Regions from separate parts of the Homo sapiens genome. Here all the other regions are linked to region 1. The links are contacts of gene promoters, found by promoter capture Hi-C in blood cells and fetal thymus (Javierre and others, 2016). All regions are on one chromosome and are shown on one strand. The core of a region is centred on a gene start or on the middle of the fragment in contact, and the rest is flanking DNA. Distances in the headings are between cores, read along the strand shown.

The links. Contacts are between HindIII fragments. The CHiCAGO score rates a contact against its expected background, and 5 or more counts as called.
Region 2: a fragment that was not itself captured here is called in contact with the fragment with the promoter of CCND1 in region 1 in 5 of 17 cell types (M1 macrophages, megakaryocytes, activated CD4 T cells and 2 more); the score reaches 7.3 in M1 macrophages.
Region 3: a contact is called between a fragment that was not itself captured here and the fragment with the promoter of CCND1 in region 1, in 3 of 17 cell types (M0 macrophages, M1 macrophages and M2 macrophages). The highest score is 6.7, in M0 macrophages.
Region 4: a contact is called between a fragment that was not itself captured here and the fragment with the promoter of CCND1 in region 1, in 2 of 17 cell types (M1 macrophages and activated CD4 T cells). The highest score is 5.8, in M1 macrophages.
Region 5: a contact is called between a fragment that was not itself captured here and the fragment with the promoter of CCND1 in region 1, in 2 of 17 cell types (M1 macrophages and M2 macrophages). The highest score is 7.9, in M1 macrophages.
Region 6: a fragment that was not itself captured here is called in contact with the fragment with the promoter of CCND1 in region 1 in 4 of 17 cell types (endothelial precursors, M0 macrophages, M1 macrophages and 1 more); the score reaches 9.6 in endothelial precursors.

What each region holds. Positions count from the first base shown.
Region 1 is chr11:69,639,693-69,643,569 of GRCh38, reverse strand. CCND1 (cyclin D1) reads right to left here and starts at 2,414. Exons shown (of 5, transcript NM_053056.3): 1 at 2,059-2,414; 2 at 324-539. The coding sequence starts at 2,256. RefSeq lists silencers at 139-398, 529-588, 679-818 and enhancers at 1,441-2,143, 3,651-3,877. The HindIII fragment of the contact is 14,749 bases long and covers 1-3,877 here.
Region 2 is chr11:69,172,654-69,176,437 of GRCh38, reverse strand. LOC105369366 (a long non-coding RNA gene) reads right to left here. Exons shown (of 3, transcript XR_950256.3): 2 at 744-872. Among named protein-coding and RNA genes, the nearest start is that of SMIM38, 19 kb to the right of the region's middle. The HindIII fragment of the contact is 173 bases long and covers 1,355-1,527 here.
Region 3 is chr11:69,224,936-69,228,709 of GRCh38, reverse strand. No RefSeq gene overlaps it. Among named protein-coding and RNA genes, the nearest start is that of MYEOV, 67 kb to the left of the region's middle. The HindIII fragment of the contact is 4,482 bases long and covers 1-3,774 here.
Region 4 is chr11:69,143,301-69,147,144 of GRCh38, reverse strand. No RefSeq gene overlaps it. Among named protein-coding and RNA genes, the nearest start is that of SMIM38, 11 kb to the left of the region's middle. RefSeq lists a silencer at 2,183-2,242. The HindIII fragment of the contact is 5,522 bases long and covers 1-3,844 here.
Region 5 is chr11:69,243,761-69,247,665 of GRCh38, reverse strand. No RefSeq gene overlaps it. Among named protein-coding and RNA genes, the nearest start is that of MYEOV, 48 kb to the left of the region's middle. The HindIII fragment of the contact is 2,558 bases long and covers 90-2,647 here.
Region 6 is chr11:69,266,344-69,270,213 of GRCh38, reverse strand. No RefSeq gene overlaps it. Among named protein-coding and RNA genes, the nearest start is that of MYEOV, 26 kb to the left of the region's middle. The HindIII fragment of the contact is 1,598 bases long and covers 1,691-3,288 here.

The DNA of each region.
Region 1 (3,877 bases), core at 1,165-3,664:
CCCACCACCTGGAACTGGAGGCTCAGCGCCGAGCGCGGCGCTCCTCGTGCAGCCGCTGGAGGGCGCGCGCCGCCCACTTTTCGGCCACACCGCGGGGCGCGAACGCGGTGGGAGTCGCAGGCAAGCGCACACAGGGCGGCGGGACGAGGGCGGCTAGGATCCCGCCCGCTCCCCGGACAGGGACGCCCGGCGGCGGGGCCGCCCTCCCTCGGAGGAGCAGATATGTCAGAGGCGGGCCGGCCGCCACCGCCTGCACCTTCCCCGGCCCCGTGGTCCTGCGTGCGGCTCGCGGGGGGCGGGGGGCGGCGGGGTCCAGTGGTTACCAGCAGCTCCTCGGGCCGGATGGAGTTGTCGGTGTAGATGCACAGCTTCTCGGCCGTCAGGGGGATGGTCTCCTTCATCTTAGAGGCCACGAACATGCAAGTGGCCCCCAGCAGCTGCAGGCGGCTCTTTTTCACGGGCTCCAGCGACAGGAAGCGGTCCAGGTAGTTCATGGCCAGCGGGAAGACCTCCTCCTCGCACTTCTGTTCCTCGCAGACCTACGGAGGCACGGGGCCCGTGACCGCCGCCGCCAGGTCGCGCCGCCCCCCCGCACGCCCCCGCACCCCCCATCGCGCTTGGCAGGGCCGCCAGGTCTGGAGGGCGCCGAGGGGTCGGGGCTGGGGGCGGCAGGAGCTTCCCGTGATGCGCCCCCTCCCCCGCGCGTCCCCAGTACCCACCCTCCCCGAAACTGAAAGGGAAAGTCCCCGCGAGGCTGGCACGGTGGGGGCGGGAGCGGGCACAGCTGGGCGGCGTGCGCGGCGGCGCGGGCTGCCGGCCCCCGGGACCCTGGCCCGCCCTGGAGCTCCGTGGTCCCTCTGACTGGGGGTCGACACCAACTGGGGTGCGGGGCCGCGGAACGGGCCGCGGGGTTGGGCGCCGCGCCTGCGAGACACAAAGGTGGCGTCCCAGGCCGCCGCGCCGCATTTCCCCAGACGTCATCTTTTCAAAAAATATTTAAAAATATTAAAAAAATAACTAAGTGCATAAAAAAACCCTGAAAATGACCCTCGGGCGACCCTTTACCCAGGCCGGGGGTTGGGAGTTCGTTACAGGCTCCGGGGGGAGCCCCAGGAATTCAAACTCCGGGGCCCCCCCTTCCCCCTGGGCGCGGGCGGCGTTTCCCTCTCGCAAGGGCACCACGCCGCACTTTCAAAAATTATTTTAAAATACTTGCGGGCCCCTCAGGCGCCCACCGAAGGTCTGAAAATGTGCTCCCAGGCCCCCGGCTCGCTCGGAGAAGGTCCTCCAAGCCGATATCCCTGCAGACGGGGATCAAGCCCTGGCGTCTTGGGGGCCACGCGACCTTGCAGCTCGCCGTGCTCTCCGGCCCAGGCTGCCCGTTCGGGGCGCCCCGGGACTCGCTGCTTGAACAAAGGCCCCCCCTTCCCTAGCGGCGTCCCCCCAAAACTACCCATGCCGCGTCCCTGCGCCCCTCCCGCGGGCTCCCGGCAGCCGCGCGGCCCTTAGCTGCGGCCCCAGCGCCCGGCGGCCGCTCCCCGCCCCCACCCTGCCCCCAATTATTAATAAACACTTTTGCTTTGCAATAAAAGAGCAAAGATGGCGCATAATACTGGCACGAGCGGCCCTTGCATACGTGTCCATGGATATTAATTTAAAAATCAAATCTATGCCCCCTCCCCCCGGAGTTGGCGGCTCCCGGCCGCTGAGGCGCAGCCGGGCTGGGGCGCAGGCGGGGGACACAAAGCGCACCCAGCCTGCCAGCCCGCACCCTCGGGCCCATTGGGGTGCCCCTGGCACTGGCTTCTCCCGAAGGCACCCCTCCCGGACCCCCTTCTCCCCTCCCACGAAACGCTACTTCTAGCACCCCCACCCCCACCCCTTCCTCCTTCAGAAAATACCCGCAATTTTTATTTTGAAAATACGGATCCCTAGAAACACCACGGCAAACTTCAAAGTTCTAGCGGGAGAGAAGGGAGGGGGGTGAGTAGCAAAGAAACGTGGGTCTGGGCAACAAGTTGCAGGGAAGTCTTAAGAGAGCCGCCCGAAGCCCCGCACCTCCAGCATCCAGGTGGCGACGATCTTCCGCATGGACGGCAGGACCTCCTTCTGCACACATTTGAAGTAGGACACCGAGGGCGCGCAGGTCTCCTCCGCCTTCAGCATGGCCCGCAGCACCCGGTCGTTGAGGAGGTTGGCATCGGGGTACGCGCGGCGGATGGTTTCCACTTCGCAGCACAGGAGCTGGTGTTCCATGGCTGGGGCTCTTCCTGGGCAGCTGGGGAGGGCTGTGGGTCCTGGCTGGGTCCGCGCTCGGCTCTCGCTTCTGCTGCCCCGCGCTCCCTCGCGCTCTTCTGCCCCTCGCCGGAGCGTGCGGACTCTGCTGCTCGCTGCTACTGCGCCGACAGCCCTCTGGAGGCTCCAGGACTTTGCAACTTCAACAAAACTCCCCTGTAGTCCGTGTGACGTTACTGTTGTTAAGCAAAGATCAAAGCCCGGCAGAGAATGGGAGCGGGAGGGGGGCGGGGGCGGGCGCAGGGGGAGGGGGCGCGGGCGCCAAACGCCGGGAGCAGCGAGGGGCAGAGCCCAAAAGCCATCCCTGAGGCGCCGCGCCTGCCCTGCGGCGGAGTTGCCCCTGTAGTCCGGTTTTCATAGAAATGCAAATCGCCCCGCTGCAGCCTTTCTCCCCGCCAGGGAAGAGGGGTGCAGGGGGCCCCGTCCGCCTCGAGTGGGTCCCCCGGGATTTAGGGGGTGAGGTGGAGGTGGCTCTGCAGTAGGGGACAACTAGGAAGGCCGGCAGGCCACACGCAGCCTGGGGAGACCACGAGAAGGGGTGACTGGGGCGCGGCGACACCCCATATCCAAGCCGGCAGAATGGGCGCATTTCCAAGAACGCCACGAGGGCACCCACGGGCGGACAGACGGCCAAAGAATCTCAGCGACTGCATCTTCTTTCATTTTCATTAACACGTGTAAATTGCAAGAACTAATTTAGCATGCAAGGACGGGGAGGACCGGGCACACAACCCCTGTGCAAGTTTCATTCCGGCGCACAGGGGCGTCGTTGCAAATGCCCAAGGGGGTAACCCTAAAAGTTAAAGGGATTTCAGCTTAGCATGCGCTCGCTCAAAAAATAAAATAAAATAAATGCCCGAAAATTCCAGCAGCAGCCCAAGATGGTGGCCAGCATTTCCTTCATCTTGTCCTTCTAGCCTGGAGACTCTTCGGGCTGCCTTCCTACCTTGACCAGTCGGTCCTTGCGGGGGTCCCCAACTGCACCCCCTCCCTTCCCGTGCCGGCAATTTAACCGGGAGAAACACACCTCTGAATGGAAAGCTGAGAAACAGTGATCTCCATTCTGACTCATTTTTTTTAATTAAAAAAGAAATTAAATTGCTGGAAATATTAGTCCCCTCTGCCTGGGACAAGACCACCGAAGGTTCCTAATTGGTTTTGTTGGGGGTGTAGACGTCCCTTCACCTTTAGAATTTGCCCTGGGACTGAATTCGTGAGCGTGAGGGGGCTGGCAGGAGCCGGCATAATTCAGAACAATTATCAATTAAACAAACGAGTGTACTGATCTGATTTTTAGCAAAATCGATAGGTGTTCGTGGTTACATGAGAGGGTCCCCAATATTATCGCAAACTTAAGCAGATGTAAATTAAAATACACAGTTTTTAAAATTACAGGTTCTGTCTCTTTGGTGCATTAAAAAATAAAAGGACATTTTACTGTCTTAACTTTTGTTTTTATTTTTACAGTACCTGCCCCAAATTAAGAAAACTGTTCATTTACTTCCTTTTGAATATAGTTCAGTGTCATCAAACCACCGTACCCTCTTAACAGTAAAAGCTCAAAGAAAACTGATAGAAAAAG
Region 2 (3,784 bases), core at 192-2,691, 470 kb after region 1:
TCCACTTAAAAATATAAAAATTAACCAGATATGAGGTGGCGCACACCTGTAATCCCAGCTATTTGGGAGGCTGAGGCATGAGAATCACTTGAACCCGGGAGGTGGAGGTTGCAGTGAGCTGAGATTGCACCACTGCACCCCAGCCCAGGTAACAGGGTGAGACTCTGTCTCAAAAAAATAAAAAAAGAGAAAATCTAGAAAATAAGTACAGAAGATCCAACATCCAAATAACAGGAATAACAGGAGCTATAGATGTATACGAGAGAGGAAATTGCAGGGAAGAAATGATCAATGAAATAATTCAGGGTAATTCCCTGGCACTAAAAAAAAGGCCCGCAAAATACCCAGCATAGGAGGTGAACATAGACCTACCCCATGGACACATCATTGTGGAACTTTAGTACACTTGGGACAAAGAGAAGATTCTACAAACTTCCAGAGAGAAAAATCACATGACATACCCAGGGCTGGTTATCAAAACAGCTTCAGAATTCTCAGCAGCCCCACTGGAAGCAAGAAAACAATGGAGCAATGCTTTTGAGCTTCTGAAGGGAAATTATTTCCTAACCCAACCTTCTATGCCAGCCACATTATTAAGCAAGTGTGAAGGTGGAATACAGATCCCTTCAGCTGGCGAGGTCTCTAACAAATTTGCCTACGAGCCACACTTTCTCAGAAAGCTACTGAAGGATGTGCTACACCCAACTGAGAAGGTAAACCAAGAAAGAGAAGACTCGACATACAGGAAGCAGCAGGTGAAGGCAGTCCCCCAGAAGATCACTGATGGCCGTGACGCACTCCACATAGAACGCTGCCGTTACAGATGACAGCCATGTGACAAGATTTCTGCTGCCACTGTGCCCCCTTTTGACCTGAGGACAGAGTATGGGGTGAGGATCTTATCTTCGCTTGGCTTATGTTGACCAGGGGCTGGCAAAGTTCCTGCTCTTTCTCCTGCTGGGCTGCCTCCACCAGTTGAGAACTTTGATCTATTCTTGAGAGCAGGAATTGGCCACGGTGAGCTTAGAAGCAGATGATGCAAAGCAACCTGCTCTCTTTAGCCATCCTTCTGCCATGATCCCAGAGGTCAGCCTCATCAGATAGCCCAGCTATCGTGAGACCTCAGTTTCCCAGGGCTCACTCATGCCTTTGCCCATTGACAGTCTGACCTTCAATTCTCTCAGAGAGGGGCAGAGCCTGGCTTGCTGCCCTGAGTTTGCCAGAACTCAGCTGGCCTTTGTGTTTTATATTTTTTTGGGAGCTTTCAACTCTTGGTGACAACATTGCCATTTCCTTACACAATTTGTTTTGTGCTTCCTTCAATTTTTTAGAACTAAACAATGTGTTGTAAGCTTGTAGATGCTGGCCAGATGATCACCAAACCTGTTCCTCCCCCATTCCTGGGCACTCAGCTGGACTGCATTTCCCAGCCTCCCTTGCAGGTAGGTACAGGTACATGTCTGTGTTCCATCCAGTAGAATGTGATGGAAGTGATGTTTACTACCTCCAGGCCTGCCGAAAAAAGCTTCCTACACAATCCAGTCTGCTCCTTCTCTCTGTTTGCTCCTCTGCCGATCCAATGCAGTGCACCAAATGGAGGACTCCATGGCTGTAGGGGATGGCAGAGCCATTCAGAAAAAAAGGCCTGGGTCCCTGCATGGCTGCATGGAGCAGAGCCCAACCCAACCTGCCCTGCACTGTCATGAACAAGAGATACACATGTATTGAATTAGGGTGCTACAATTAGTGGGTTGCTTGTTAAAACAGTTAATATACCCTGATTAATAAAGGATATTTACATAGGTGGTAAAACTCTAAAGGAAAATATAGGCCATTCGTTTTAGGAGCCAGTTTCCTGATACAGAGGAGATAGGTACTTGGGAAATGTCTTTGCTGAACAAATGAATGCACAAACACAATTGCTCTTTGACTGTGGCTTCAAAGTCATGTCCGCACAAGCGTGTGGCCCGGAGGGGAACGGGAAAAATGTAGACAGTTGATTTGTCAGGGTACTGGGAATGTGGGTGAAATTTTTCCTGTTATTCTTAGGATAAGGTTATTTTGCAATAAATACGTAGAGAATGTGGAGTCAGGCTCTCCCGCATTCTGTGTGGCATGCGTAAAAACATCTAGGCACACAGCGCTCCAAACAGATGTTTCTTTGCAAGCAAGAGCTCATTTCTCCTGAAAGCAGTCAGGATCCAGCAACCAGGCATCCCCCTCCTCCAGCAGCCCAGCTCTCCAAACCCACCCTCCCCAGTCCCACCCTACACAAGGTCCTCAGCCCTGCCCCCAGATGGAAGCCCCCCACCTTCCACCACCACAACACATTCTGCAGCCTCAAGGCTGAGTTCAGTGTCACCAGGGCAGAATTCCCCACCCATCCTATGTCCCCACAGGTCTTTGACCCTCTGTAGTGGGCATCTGCCTATTCAGCCTGGCAGTGCCCAGAAGACAGCTTGCCTAGGGGTGAAGGGATGAGGGCCCCCCAGTCAGATCAACCAGGTCTGCACCCCAGATGCCCATTGACCAGCTCAAGGGTGGGAGCAAGTTGCTTTGCCTCTCTGAAGCCCAGGGATGATGACAGCCCCTTCCTGAAGGATGTCTGTGAAGAGCAGATGAAGGGATGCATGGAATGTTCTTAGAAAGGCCCCCAGGCCCATATGGATCGCTCAATAAGCCTTGGCCCCAGGACTGTCCTCAGAAGTAGAGAATGCATCTGTGTCTGGCTCTTACAATGACCTGTTAACCCCTCAAGAGTGATGCCCACATTCTCCTCCCTGGTAACTGGCCTGGAGCCCAGCGCTCAATGAGCTGCACATGGAACAGAACCGAGAGCTCAACTAGCTGCAGAGAAGCTGAGTTAAGCCTGTGTCTGTTGATGGCCACTTGGCCACTGGATTCAAGGCAGGATGTGCTGGCACCTTGGGACTGCCCTCACCATCAGTCCTGCCTTGCCCAGAGGGCTGGGCCAGGAGAAGCCGGCCAGTGCAGGGGCCAGCCAGAAAGCATGTCCTGGGGAATGGCTGAAGAAACTAAGGATATGTACCCAAAGAAGAGAAGACCTGGGAGAAGATTCTATCTACCCAGAAATGGTGGTTGAGCACCTACTGTGTTCCAGGTACTGTTCTCAAATGAGCAAGACAGAGAGCAAGACAGACAGATGGCCTGCCCTTGTGGGCTTGCATTCTAGACAATAAATAAAAACAGAACCAGACAATCCAATTAATAAAAAATAGAACCAGACAATATAATAAATAAAAAATAGAACTAGATAATCCAATTAAAAATAGAACCAGACAATCCAATAAATAGATACATAAAGCAACATCAGCTGGTACTAAGTTCTATAATGAAAAATAAAGGCAGGCTAGCAGAAGAATAGAGAGTGCTGAGCCAGGCCAGGTTGGCAGGGTTGAGGGGGTGGTTTGGTGTCAAGGAAGGCATTTCCCAGCAGATGACACTTGGGCAGACACTTGAAGGAAAAGAGTAAGCCATCATCTGGGTATGTAAGTGGTTTGCTAACCCTGCCCTGCCTGTGCACATGCCAAAGGGAACTACATTTCCCAGAGTCCTTTGCCCTCTGGCTTCTGGGTACGTTCAGCAAATGGGAGGCTCCAGGGTAAGAGTGGAGGCTGGGAGGAAGCAGAATCTCAGCTACTTTCTCCCCTCTCTCCCTGCTCCCTGTGGCAGCCCCAGCAGGTTGGTGTGGGACACAATACCACCATGATGCAAATGCTCTAAGGTGAAGCAAGGTTCCATTTCTCCTCAACTGACTTCTCTC
Region 3 (3,774 bases), core at 951-3,450, 410 kb after region 1:
CCGATAGAAAAAACTGACAAAAGAATTCCTGTTTTGGTTCAAGTTCATGATGGGTGGGAGGCACCATGACCACCACACCTATGTTCATGCCTTCCATCCACAAATCAGAAGCTCCATGAGGGCAGGCAAGGAAATGACTGTCCTTTCCATCCTAAATCCCTGGTGCCTAGCAGAGTGTCAAACACATGCAGGAGTTTAATAAATATTGAACAGAAATATACTCTATCAGTGTATGGGTTCTGGAGCCAGACTTTCTAGGTCTGAATCCCAGCTCTGCCACTCAAAAACCAAGTTCCCCAGCAAGTTACTGGCTCTCTCTGGGCCATGGTTTCCTCATCTGTAAAGTGGGGCTAAGAGTGATATCTGCCTTATAAGGTTGTTGAAGGAATTCATAGTTTAATACACATAAAGTGCCTGAACCAGACATGTTGTGTAGTGATCATACAATAATATCATTACTGTCTCCATCCTCATCATCATTATTCCATGTTGAAGAGGATAATCCCCATCATGGTTCCCTTCCCCTCTGAACCCATTCAGAACCCAGAGTCTCTGCACGGTTATCTCAGCCAAAATCCCTGCCCTCAGAGAGCTGACGTCCCATCTGGGAGGAGACACAGAACAAATAAATAAATATGGAATATGTCAATGCTGAGAAGAACAGAGTCTGTGGTCCCTAGTGCACCCTGCTGCCTCTGACAGGGATGGGAAAGAGTGGACTCATAATAATTAATTTTATTTGTCAACTTAACTGGGCCACAGGGTGCCCAGATATTTGGTCATACATTCTGGGTATGTCTGTGAGGGTGTTGCTGGATGAGATGAACATTAAAATCCATAGACTGAGTAAAGCAGATTGCCCTCCCTAATGTAGGTCAGCCTCATCTAGTATACTATACACACACACACACACACACACACACACACACACACATACATATATATATATTTCTGTATATGTACACATCTTATTGGTTCTGTTTCTCTGGAGAGCCCTAATACAGATCTGCCCATTGATGGTGCTGCTATTCTCCCAGGGGGTTAGAGAACTTTCCTCACTTTGCCCCTGACCCCCATGGTCATCCTCTGTCTCTGTGTGTTGAGAGGACTGCAGTGAGATGATCTGGTGTCTACTCCAGCTCTGCAACCAGGATGACCATAGGAACCACATTAAAGTCCAATCATACCACAAGTGAAAACAGGTGCCATCATGGCCCCATTTTCCCAGCCCCATGCCACAGTCATGACTGGTCCCTAAACAACCCCTGCGGATCACTGCTACATTCCCCTGATGAGTCTTTCAGCCTCTGCCCTGGCCTTTTCAATGAACCCACACCACTTCTCCCAAGGATTCCATGGCCATGTTCTTCCTCTACTGTCAGCCCTGGTGGCCTCCTGTCACCCACAAGGTGAAGTCCAAGCTATGTGACAGGGTCAACTACATGATGTGGTCCAAGGATCCATCCCTGCCAAGGTTCAGCCTCATCTCTTGACATTCCCCTTCTTAAATTTTCAGCTCCTGTAAAGTTAAACTGCTAATAGTACCCCATGGGTGCCAGAATATTTCTTGACTCCTCATCTTTCAGCTATGGTTTGTTCCCTGTGGCCCAGGGTGCCCTTCTATTGCCACACTCTTCTCTTAGACAACTCCTGCCCATCCTTCCACATTCTGCTTATCAACTTCAGGGCAACTTCCCTGATCCTGTACACCACTCCAGATTAGTTTGGGGGCCCCTTCTGTCTCTGTAATGCAATGATGAGTCTCCATTGCACTTACTTCATTTTCAATATTATCTTAATAGGCATTAATCCAAAGAGGTTCTTGGTTCCAAGCCCTGGATCCTGGCCCATAGTTGACACTAGCAATGAAGCAATGAGTCTAGAGCTGACCCTCACCTACACAGTCTTCTGATTTAAGACATAAGGACAACTGTAATCAAGGGAAAGGAAGGGTGATCTTTTCAGTAAATAATGCTGGGGAGACCAGAGAGCCAATGGGGGAAAATGAACTCCTACCTCTAATTTATACCATGCACCAAAATTAATTTTACCTCCACCTATCAATAATGAGGCAGCAGACCCCCTTCTCTTGCCAAAGCAATGTCAAAAGAAAAACAATCCAGATGAACCACAGGATCTAAATAATACAGAAACATCCCAGTTTCAACTGGAAATCACACATCATACCAAGAATCATGAAGATCTCAAGCTGCATGAAAAACAACAATCAATAGGTGCCAACACCAAGATGACAGAGATGTTAGAGTTACCTGAAAATAATTAAAGTAGCCATGACAGAATGCTTCCAGGATCAATTATGAATACACTTGAAGCAAATAAAAAATAGAAAGCCTTTGCAATGAAATAGAAGATAAGAAGAACCAAATGGAAAATTTTAGAACTGAAAAATACAGTATGAGAAATGAAAAATTCACTGACACCTTGAACAGAAGAATGGAAAGGACAGAGGAAAGAGTGAAGTGGGAGACAGAATAACAGAAATTACTGAATCTGAACAACACAGAGAAAAGAGACTGAAATAAAAAATAACAGAGCCTCAGGGACACAACAAAAGGAACCAAGAGTCAAGAAACACAACAAAAAATCTAATATTTAAGTTTCTGGAGTTCCAGAAGGAAAGGAGAAAGAGCATGATAGTGAAAAAATGCTTACAGAAATAATGGCTGGAAACTTCCTAAATTTGTGAAGAGACACAAACTTACAGATTCAAGAAGCTGAACAAACCGTAAATAGGATAAACCAAAGAAATCCACACCAAGACACATACTAATTAAACTTCTGAAAACTAAAGACAGAAAAAAGTCTTCAAAGCACCAAAGAAAAACTGAGAAAACTGAAAGGAAAAATAGACAAGTACAGAATTAGAGTTAGAAATTTCAACACTTTTCTCTCTACAATTGATAGAACTAGACAGAAAATCAACAAGAATACTAAAACACTCAACACTGTCAACTCCCAGGATCTAATCAATATTTACAACACATTCCCCTCAATAACAGAAAAATATGCATTCTTTTCAAGTGCTCATGTAAAATAGATAGACCATATCCTGGGCCATAAAGCAATCTAAAAAACTTTAAAAAATATAAATCATACAGGGTATGTTCTCCAAACACAATGAAATCAAACTAGAAATCAGTAACAGAAAGATAACAGGAAAATCTCTGAACACTTGGAAACTAAACAACACACTTCTAAATTATCTTTGGATCAAAGAGGAAGTTTCAAGGAAGACAGAAAAATACATTGAACTTAATGAAAATGAAAATACAACACACTAGTGTTTGTGTGACACAGCTAAAACAATGCTGAGAGGAAAAATTATACTACAAAATACCTATGATCAAAAAGAAGGAAAAGCCTCAAAACCATAGTCTAAGTTCCCACCTCAAGAAACTAGAGAAAGAAGAGAAAAATCAACCCAAAGAAAGCAGAAGAAAGAAATAATAGAGAACAGCAGACATGAATAAAATTGAAAAAAAATAAAATCAATGAAAAAAGAGCTGTCTCTTTGAAGAGAACAATAAAATGGACACACTTCTAGCAAGACTGATAACGAAAAAAAGGAGGAGAAGATGCAAATTGCCAACATGAAGAATGAAACCGGGAATATCATTACAGACCCTGCAGACATCAAAAAGATAAAATAGAATACTATGAGCCACTCTACACACATAAATTTGACAACTTAGATAAATCAACTTCTTAACCACAACTCACCCAATATGAAATAGATAATTTGCATAGCCTTAT
Region 4 (3,844 bases), core at 5-2,504, 500 kb after region 1:
AGCTACTCGGGATGCTGAGGCAGGGGAATCGTCTGAACCCAGGAGGTGGAGGTTGCAATGAGCCGAGACTGCGCCACTGCATTCCACCCTGGGTGACACAGCAAGACTCTGTCTCGGGAAATAAAATTAAATTAAATTAAATCAAATCTTCAAAAATATTGCAGTACAATGCAGCACTGAAACAAGAAGCTGTTGTGTATGTGAGATTTCCTGTCCCACATTGGGCAATGCAACTGAAGGCAATAGAAACCAGGACATTGCTCAGAATATGCCATAAAGCTCCACCATGCTAAGAGTTTAAAAAAAAGAAAAGAAAAGAAAGAAAGAAAAACAGAAAACCAAAAATAAAAGAAGAAAAATAAAGCTCCACCGTGCAGCTGGAGATGTTAGCATGAATAACCTCTAGATGAACATAATCTATCAAAAGGTTTTTGCTGTCAGAAGAAACAACAGAAAGTAGAATCAGACCCAGACCTGTCAAAATTATCAGAATATAATATAAAATAAGCATGATTAAAGGATTAAGAGAAAATATTTAAAACATAAAGAACAAGAGATTATAAAATGACCAAGCAGATTTGGAAAGACCTAAATGTAATTCCAGAGATGAAAATATATTAAGTGATACTAACAGATGGTCAGACATGGCTGAAAATTATGTTGGTGAACGGAAAGACAGATCTGAGCTATGGCCCAGAATACAGCACAGAGAGACAATGGGAGACAAGAAGGAGCTGCCAAGAGGCATGAGGGGTGGAGTAAAAGCTACACTGTATGGTCCTAGGAGCTCCAGTAGAAGAGAATAGAATAGGGCAAAGGCTAGATCTGAAGGGGAAATGGCTGAGAAGTTTTTAGAACAGATGAAAAACATCAATCCCCAGATTTGGGCATCCCAAAGAATCCAACCTAGGATGAGTGATAAGCAATCCATAGCTGGGGACATCATAGTGACACCATACAATACCAAGAGGTGTTTTTAAATGTACCTGGGATTTTGTTTTAATCAGGTACATTAACATGACAGACATGGAGACAGCTGCCTTAAAAGAAGTTTATTACTTACAGTTCCCAGGAGCAGGGGGCATGCCATGCTATGCAGTCTACATGAGGAAGGACGAGGGTTGGTCAGGAGGCAGAGGGAGCAGGGGAACACAAGGGGAGACTTTACTATCACTACTATTACTATTGACATAGTAATAATAGTAATAAAGTACCATAGTAGTCAAGACTCTCCCCTTGGTGGTGGAAAGTTAAGTGAGGGTGTCTCCTATGGGGCAGAAGGCAAAACACAGATGTTGGGGGTTGTGGCCAGAGGGTTTGTGATATGATTTTTGTGCACCCATGAAAACACAAGGATAGTAAGGATAGAAACAAGCCTGGCTATAGTTTGGCTCATGATTTCAAGATACCAAATTACAGGACATCAAGAATGATTATTACAGTGGAGTGTAGCTTAGAAGCAGCCAGAGAGGCAAGGTTGGCCCACAGCTGACTTCTCAACAGCAATGGATGAGCGGAAGACAGTGGAATGACATTTTTAAGGTGCTAGAGTGAAGTGACTACCTAGAATTGTATACTCAACCAAAAATGTTTAAATAAAGACACATGCTAGAGGTTTCTCTTGGGAACATACCTACGAGTATATACGCTTAGCTGAAGGGAATATGCATCTGGCTTCATGGACGCTTCCAACAATAGCTTAGTTGGGGTTCCTTCCAGTTGCTTCTGTGAAATTAAAGAATTCAGACTTAAAGCTGTTGGAACTGTATTCAGAGCCTTGAGAGGAACATGGCTATGCAACTTGAGTCACATGGAATGCAACTGCAACTTCTACCTTTTTTTTTCCCTATAAATAATTAAGAAGACCAAACGACTTCAGAGATAAGAATCCCTTGAATTTCTACCCCTCCTCATGGAGTAATAAAGTATTTTCCTTGGAATGCAGCAATCTGTAACCGATCAAGTCACTGTACGCACTGATCGTGTATGAAAAATGTTGTAATCCTGCTGAAATTTCTCTGTCTCTGCCTATGTAAGAGAAATCTTAACTTCTCCACTTTGAAACAGTGACCCCATTTGTTTGGAGTCAGTGTTGCCCAAGTGGCTATCCTCATGCTTTGGGCTCAAAGAATCTCTACATTTAATCATAGTTTCTGAATCTCACTGTTTAAGGTTGACACTTCTCATCCTCACCAACACGGGCTTTTGAGTGCTTGCCAAGCTGGTGGGTGAGACATAGTGTCTCGGTATAGTTCGGGGTTGCATTTTCATATTGACTTTTCTTATGCTGATTGCCTTTGGGGTTTCTTCTCTTGTGAAGTACCAGTTGAGTCTTTGGTTGTTTCTTTTTCTTAGGAATTTGTAGGCATTCTTCATTGTATTAACCATTACTTCTTTTTCCTGTATTCTGATGCTTTGACATCTGGGAACGTGCTGACCCTGGAGGGATGGCCCCTCCCAGGATTAGCCAATTTCTAGAAATGAAGTCATCTGTGAGTGCACCTTTCAAATGTAAACCAACTAACTAATCCAGAGCTCACATTTGCAACGACCTCTTCTATCAGGTTCTCATACTCAGGGCTACCATCCTCCTGCCATAATCACCCCAGGGCCAGGTACCAGACAGGCAGGGACAGTCCCTGTGCCCCAGAGCCTGTAACATTATTCAAACTAGCCCATCCTATGCCTACTTGCCCTGCCTCACTCGTTTTTTCCTACAGAAACCACAATCAAGGCTCTTGCCCACACTTTCCCCTTAGTCCCTATCCCTCCAGACCAACTCCCCTGCTTCCCTGTGCCCCCCATCCACCCCGGGGTGCAGCATGTCCCCTCCCCTGCAGATCTGTGAGTAACAAACTATCTTTTCAATAATGGTTATCTCCTGATCTGTTGGCCTCATCATATCTGAATAATAATAAAACCTATAGCAGCCGGGCGTGGTGGCTCACACCTGTAATCCCAGCACTTTGGGAGGCCAAGGTGGGTGGATCACGGGGTCAAGAGATCGAGACCATCATGGCCAACATGGTGAAACCCCGTCTCTACTAAAAATACAAAAATTAGCTGGGCGTGGTGGTGCACGCCTTTAATCTCAGCCACTTGGCAGGCTGAGTCAGGAGAATCACTTGAACCCGGGAGGCAGAGATTGCAGTGAGCTGAGATCATGGCACTGCACTCCAGCCTGGTGACAGAGCGAGACTCCATCTCAAAAAAACAACAGCAACAACAAAAAAAATTTTTCTTCATACAAATTATTTGTCAGTTCTAAGCATTGCAGTATCTTCTCCCAGTTTGTAGTTTGTCTTTTCATGCTTCTTATGGTGTTTTTTGTTGGTTGGTTGGTTGGTTGGTTTTTGAAACAGTCTCGCTCTGTCGCCCAGGCTGGAGTGCAGTGGCACAATCTTGGCTCACTGCAACCTCCACCTCCCAGGTTCAAGCAATTCACCTGCCTCAGCCTCCCGAGTACCTGGGATTACAGGCATGTGCCACCATGCCCAGCTAATTTTTGTATTTTTAGTAGAGATGAGGTTTCGCTGTGTTGGCCAGGCTGGTCTCAAACTCCACACCTCAAGTGAGCCGCCCGCCTAACCTCCCCAAAGTGCTGGGATTACAGGCGTGAGCCACCGTGCCTGGCCCTTACCATGTTTTTTGATGAACATAAACTCTAAATTGTAATGTGGTCAAATTCATCAATTGTACTGAAGGCCCCAACTGGGACAATAAGGCAAAAAAAATAAACTCATAAAGACTGGAAAAGAAGACAAAATCCTGTCATTATTCACAGATAACGCAATTATCTATGTTGAAATTCCAAAATAATCTACAAACAAGTTATTCAAAATAA
Region 5 (3,905 bases), core at 119-2,618, 390 kb after region 1:
TTTATACATGGAACTCTGACTTCTTCCTTGGATGTTTCGTGTGTTGGAAGCCACTCCCTTCCCACTCTCACCTAAAGACCTCACAAGCTTAAGAAAACAATAAAAAAGCAAATAAATAAATAACTAATAGCAATTGATTGTGTTCAATTCCAGAAGGTCAAGAAATAGAAGAATCTAGTAAATTACAAGTAATAAACAAACACAGCAACATGCCTGGCACTGCACAACATGAAAGGTACACAGTGTTGAATTAAGACACAATCTTGGCCGGGCATGGTGGCTCACGCCTGTAATCCCAACACTTGAGAGGCCAGAGGATCACCTGAGGTCAGGAGTTTGAGACCAGCCTGGCCAACATGGTGAAACCCCTTCTCTACTAAAAATACAAAAATTAGCCAGGCGTGGTGGCGCATGCCTGTAATCCCAGCTACTCGGGAGGCTGAGGCAGGAGAATCCCTTGAACCCAGGAGGAGGAGGTTGCAGTGAGTCAAGATTGCACCACTGCACTCCAGCCTGGCAGCAGAGCTAGACTCCGTCTCGGGAAAAAAAAAGAAGAAGAAGAAGAAGACATACCATATCTCTTTCTCTCTCTTTCTCTCTTTCTCTCTTTCTCTCTTCCCACCATGTGAAGACACAGCAGAAAGACACCCATCTCCAAGCCAGGAAGAGAGGACTCACAAGAACCCAACCCTGGCCAGGCTCAGATGTCAGGAGTTCGAGACCAGCCTGGCCAACATAGCAAAACCCCATCTCTACTAAAAATACACACACACACACAAAATTAGCCAGGCATGGTGGCAGGCACCTGTAATCCCAGCTACCTAGGAGGCTGAGGCAGGACAATCACTTGAACCCAGGAGGCAGAGGTTGCAGTGAGTCAAGATCTCACCACGGCACTCCAGCCTGGGTGACAGAGCAAGACTGTCTCAAAAAAAAAAAAAAGAGAGAGAGAGAAAATAGAAACCAACCCTAATCACACATTGATCTTGGACTTTTAGCCTCCAGAACGAGCAAAAATAAATGTCTGTTGTTTAAAGCCCCTGGTCTATGGTCTTCTTTGTAGCAGCCCCAACAGACTAATATTAAGTGGTTTCTAGGAGTTGAGGGTGGGAATGAGGCACCCTCAGGGGTGATGGAAACATTCTGTATCTTGACTGTGCAGGTAATTAAACAACTGTGTGTGTTTGTCAGAACTCACAGAAGTATACACTCAAAAGCATTAACTTGACAGGATATAAATTATACCTCAATAAAGTAGCAAAAAACTACACATTACTTACAGGGAGACAAAGATAAGAATGATGAAGACATCTCATCAGAAACAATACAAGCCAGAAGAAACCAGTGTGCGGCGGGAGCTGCGCGGCAGAAAAAAGACCCGCCACCTGTTGGGCTGGGGTGTAGGGAAGCGTCACGGAGCAGGTGCCCTTGAGCTCAGACTCCAAGGGGGAGAACAGGCAAGGTAGCCAGAAAGAGCATTTTAGGAAGAGGGAGGCAGTAGCCTGGACCTCAGCTCACAGCTTGGAGGGGAGGGGAAGTTCAGCCTGCAAGGTGGGCTCAGGCTGGAAACACAAGCTGGGACTAGACACAGAAGAGCCTCCAACTCCAGGCCGCAGACGTTGAATTTTACTCTGGAAGTCGCTGAGGTACAGCAACATGGACAAGAGGCAGCAGCAACATTTTCCCCTTGCCATGCAGATGCCAAGCATATGTAGTGGCATTCTGCTGGCCCTAACCCAGCTTGGCACCTAATTTTAGCCCCCAAACTGTTAGATGTTGCAAAGCATCCATTCTGGGGCTGCCGTGGGCCAATGTCAGAGAGCTGGGAGCATAGGAACCGTTGAGATAAGCTCCCAGGCCAGGAACAAGCACTTCACCTTCTCCAGCCACATCACGAGGCCCTCCCTGGCCTGCCTGGCCCCCACCTCCTGACCTCATCAGCTCTCGGTTGCACTCACTCTGCTGCAGCCACACTGATCCCCTTGCTGCTCCTCCAACACACCAAGCAAACTCCTGCCTCAGGGCCTTTGCACACACTGTGGCTGCCGTAGCCAGGAGCACTCCTCCCCAGGTACCAACAGGGCTCACTCTCAGACATTTCTCAGGGATCTATTCAAATGCCCCTTGTCAGTACAGCACGCCCTGACACCATGACTCAGACAGCCCCCACACCCACCCCCAGACACCCCCAGCCCCTCATCCTAGTTAATCTCTCTTCCTAGCACTCACTTCTTTGTTTCTCCAGGACAGTGGGCCCTGAGTGAATATCTACTGAATGAGTAGGGGACACCTTCTGGAAACTCCTTTCACCCAAACTCTGGCTCTGATGGAAACTACTCGTGGCAGCCAGATGGGTGTCAAGGTGGGTGGTGCAGAGGAGGAAAGTCCAGGGATTGGGGATGAGATCCAAGAGGAGTCACAGCCTGCAGGGCTGGAAGCTGCAGTTGCCCAGTGTAGGAGATCCTCCCTCCTGGGTCACAGCTGTAAAATGAGGATGCCAGAGACTCTTGCCCTACAGCCCAGAGGGCCCATCAGATTGTAACTCATCCTGTGTCTGCTCAGTAACATGTAAAAAGTCTGTATTAGTCTGTTTTCACATTACTATAAAGAACTTCCCGAGACTGGGTAATTTATGAAGAAAAAAGCTTAATTGACTCATAGTTCTGCATGGTTGGGGAGGCCTCAGGAAACTTACAATCATGGCAGAAGGTGAAGGGGAGGCAAAGACCTTCTTCACATGGCAGCAGGAAAGAGAGAGCTAGCAAGAGCAGGGAAGACTGCCTTATAAAACCATCAGAGCTCATGAGAACGCACTCACTATCACAAGAACGGCATGGGGGAAACTGCCTTCACGATCCAATCACCTCCCACCTGGTCCCTCCCTCGACACATGGGGATTATAATTCCAGATGAAAGTTGGGTGGGGACACAGAGCCAAATCATATCAAAGTCCGTACTGCATAGCAGGTCCTATACATGGTACTGGGGTTACACCGTGAGCAAGACAGACATATTTACTGCCCTGTCTACACTAACACTTCACCCCAAGCACATAGTCCAGTAGTGGGGACATATAGTCAGCTGGACCATCACAATATTGACTAATAACAGGTGCAGTGCAGGGCAAGTTCAGGGCTTGGGGATCCTATAAAGGCAGGCAGCCCGGCCTGATACAGGGAGGTGGTCAAGGATAGCTTCCTGGAGTGAACGACCCCCTGTACAGAGTGACCTTCATTAAACAAAAGCTTATCATGCATCAGCTTGCCATGGCTCCACAGGGCCCAGAGGCTGAGGGGTGAGGTCCCCAACTCAGCAGGGAAGGCCCTCCCAAGCTACATCCCTTCCACCTCACCCCCATGGGGACTGCACCAGGGCATCGCCAGGTTTCCCTCCATGCCCCATGTATCAGTTATTCATTGCTGTGTAACAAATTCCCCCATCATGGAGGGTTAAACAATAGACATTTGCTACTCTCACAGTTTCTGTGGATCACAGGGCTGGGCTAGGCAGTGCTGGCTGAGGGTCTCTCATGAAGATACAAGCAGATGTCAGCTGGAGGGGTAGTCCTCTGGAGGTTTGACCAGGCCAGAGGATCTGCTTCCAAAGCAGCTCCCTCATGGCTAGTGAGTGCTGGCTGCTGGTAGGAATCCTCAGTTCCCCGCCAATGTGCCTCTTGAGTGTCCTGATGTCATAGCAGCTGGTTTCCCTCAGAGAGAGGGATTCATGAGGCCAAAGCAGAAGCTTAATGCCTTTTATGGCCTAGACACATGCTGTCACCTCTGCTGCACTGACTCCATCATACAGACCAACCTGGGCTCAAGGTGGAAGGACACCACACAAGGGTGTGAATGCCAACAGGTGACCAACATGGACTTGGAGCTGACTGCCACATACTTCATCTGTCC
Region 6 (3,870 bases), core at 1,240-3,739, 370 kb after region 1:
CACAGCCTGCCTGGGCCGCCTACTCCCCACCGACAAGCCGTCAATCGCTCCCCTGAGAGTCAGTGCGTGGGCCCCAGACCTTGTCAATCTGCCGGAGGACACGAAGCCAGGGCCAGAGCATTCCCACGCTGGACAGCCACTGTGGAGGGGCCCAGGCCGCAGGGTTCCCCCAGCCCCAGGCCTGCAGCTCCAGCTCCCCTGGAGGCCCTGTGTGCTCCCATTCCACACTCGGACTCAGCAAACCAAGCCCACCCAGGGCTCCTCACACCACCTCGAGTCACAGAGCCCACAGAGCTGTTTCCCAGGCTCGTGTGGGTGTGGGAGGGAGCACCAGGCCCACCAGAGGTTGGGAGGGCCTCCAAGGGCCACTCTTCTGGAAGTTTCTGGGGTCACATGAAGGCTGAGACAGTATAGCTGGGGCCTGGAGGCGAGCTGGAAGGAAAGGCCTACACCCCCACACCTCCACTCAGCCCTATCGGTGACCAGGACAGGTGGTCCCTCTTGGGGGCCTGAAATTCCCACACTCCTTGAGGGTTGTCTGAGGCCCCAGTTTTCAGACTCAGTCTTTTCCACCTGGCCAAGAAATGAAAAGTGCAGACATTTTAAAGGAAAGGGAAAGGGCTCAGAGAGGTTAAGTGACTTGCCCAAGGTCACACAGCAAGGAAGTGGAAGAGCTGGGCTTCAAACCCAGAACTGTGCTTTGCATGCAGCAGGTGCTGAATGAATGCATGAAGATTACAACGTCCATAATCTCAGCCATCGAGACCACATGCTGCCTCTGACTGGCTGGCAGCCAGCAGGGCCCAGCTCCAGGAGTGGGGAGCTCACCACTCACTCTGGACCCCTGGCTACTGTAACCTTGCTCATTATAGGTCTGGGTTCTGCCTGAAACTCACAGAGATGAATCAGGTTCCCTTCCCAGGAGCAGCCTTCAGGGCTCCAAGGCACATTCGGAGCTCAACTCCAAAGCTCCTTGACCCCATCCCTTCCCACATCCCTTTGCACGCCGCCTACACCCCAACTCTGACCCACTGGACCTCTCTCTCCCCTGCCGGCCCCCCGTGCTGAGCCCCGTCCAGGCCACTATGGCTCCCGACTGGCCTGGGCCCTCTCAGCCTCTGGTGTGCCCCCGGTCACTCCCTGCTCTGAGGTTGGGCATCTAGAAGGCCACTCTGTGCCCAGGCCTCTCATTTCCTGGCCTCCTCTGTACATGAGAAGCAGTGGTGTGGCTACTGTTGCTAGGCCCAGAGGGCCTCCCTGGGCCACCTTCCTTTACTCTCTTCCTAGGCAGGACGAGGGGACCCCCATGGCCCCAGCCTCCCAGGACCATCAGCCTGAAGAATCTCCCTCTGCGGTCTCAGGGAAGCTGGGTGGGACCCCAAGCCTAAGGCCAGGATAGAGCCCAACACTCTGGGAGGCCCAGCCATTTTCCTTCCCACCACACAGGCAGAAAGAGGCCCCCACCCCAGGGAACAGATGCCCATCAATGCCTCATAGCAGGGAGATTTCTCAGCACGCCTCCCCTGTGAAGCTCCCCAGGCATGTGGCAGAAGGGGAACGTGGAAGCTGCATTTGAGGTGGACGTCACACACCCATCTGCCAAACAAAACCCATTCGCGAGCTCGAGGGCCAGAAAACCAAGCTCATTCACCACAGGTGCCCGCTTAGTGCAGAGAGAGCGTGGCAAGCTTGATCGTCACTTTCCAAAGTGTATTCCAGTTCCACTGGATGTTAACAGGATCAAGGGAGTTTGGGGACCACAGGATGAAGCAAAGTCTTTAGAGAACTTGCTGGGGCTTTTATTCTGTCTCTCTGAGAGGAGAGAGCAAGCTGGGTTTCTCAAACTGATTTAACCTCCTAAGTTCTATTTCTGGACTGTCTTATGGGACCAGCATTCCCTGGAATCCTTTTTGAGAAACACAGCCCATGCTGTTTCTGCCGCCCTGAAGTGCTTGGCTCCTGTGCTCTGGCCCAGCACTGATGTGGCTGGGGAGGATGCTTAGAGAGCTCCAGGGACCAGGCCTGGGCCCACATTCAGTGACGGATAAAGGTGCCTTCCTTGCCTGGTGGGCACAGCCTCTCTGGGGTTATATGGCACCAAAGCCCACAATGCCACCAGCAAAGATGTATGAGGGCCAAACACAGCCCCTCCTGGGGTTCTGGAGACAGGGTGCAGTCCCCACAGACTAGCAGAGCCTACAGCTTGCAACCTGGAGGGGAAGTTCCCGAGGTACCCAAAAAGCTCATGCAGGTGGCTCTATCCCTGGAATAGGAATAAAGACCAGTCTGTTCCCACCCCCTCCGATCTCTGCCATTTCCACCAGCCAAGAGCCTCCAATGCCCTGGTGTCCCAGAATCTGGGAAGTCTGGCCCCAAACAGCCTGTGAGTGGCTACCTCGGGCCCGTGGGTGTAACGGGCACCGAGGCTGGCTCTCTGTTGCCCCATTCCCCAGGCTCCACAGACTCCCTGGCTGCTGGCTGGGCTGCCTGGGCCCCTCCTCTGGGGCCTGCCTCCTGACCCTGAATAGCTTTTCACATTTCCCCAGAAGCGCCTTTGATCCGGCGGGGATCTTTTCCATTGATTCAGCATCTAATCTGGTTTCCCATCTGATTGCAACGGTCCCTCCACGCCTCCTTCCGCTCAGTGTTTTCCTAATCCTCGGCCCTGCTTACTTATCGCTTGCTCCTGAGCACTGGCCAACTCCTTCTCTTCCCCTTGACATTCCTGCCCCATCTTCCTCCCTCTCTCCCTCCGTCCCTCTGCGGCTGGCCATGGCCTTGCCTGAGCCAGGCAACCTTGAGTCTGGGGTGCCTTCCTGGAGTACACATCAGTCAGCCTTTCCTTCCTCCCCTCATTTAACCCAGCGGTTCCCAACCTTTTTGGCACCAGGGACCAGTTTCACGGAAGACAATTCTTCCCTGGACCAGGGGTTGGGGGGATGGTTTCAGGATGATTCAAGTGCATTACATTTATCATGCACTTTATTTCCATTATTATTACATTATATAATGAAATAATTCTACAACTCACCATCATGTAGAATCAGTGGGAGCCCTGAGCTTATTTTCCTGTAACCAGATGGTCCCATCTTAGGGTGATGGGAGACACTGACAGATCATCAGGCATTAGATTCTCATAAGGAGCGTGCAACCTAGATCCCTCACATACGCAGTTCACAGTAAGGTTTGCACTCCTATGAGTGTCTAATGCTGCCGCTGATCTGACAGGAGGTGGAGCTCAGGCCGTCATGTGAGTGATGGGGAGTGGCTGTAAATACAGATGAAGCTTGGCTCCCTCACCCACCATTCATCTCCAGTTCCTAACAGGCCACGGACCAGTTAGGGACCCTTGGTCTAACCAACGTTGATTAAATGCTTTCTCTGCACCAGGTGCAGGGGCCCCCACATCTGCAGCCTTTTGCAAAAACAGTGCTTCTCTCTAGAGGCAGAGACTGAACTCTGGAGGCAGAGACTGAACAAAGAAATGTGCAGGGGGCTGACACACAGCCCACCAGGGTGATCACAAAGCCCTCTTGCACACCACCCTGGAGATGGATGAAGTTGTACCCACTGCGTAGATGGGAAAATTGGGGCTAGAGTTATTTTCAATTGCCCCCGCCACACAGCTGTGAGTGTCAGAGCAGGAACATCTGACTTTCTGACTAGTTCACAGCAGGGCTGTTCTAGTTGTCATTCAAGGTCTCTGGCATTTCATTGCCAATGTCCACATTGACCAGCTACAGGGTCCCAGGGAAGCCATGCTCAATAGAATGTGGCCCAGGCTCTGACATTGTCCTGGCTTGAAAAGTTCGTGCCCCAACCCTGCCCAGGCACACACACCCTGTTCACCTGCGATGGGCACCCCAGGCA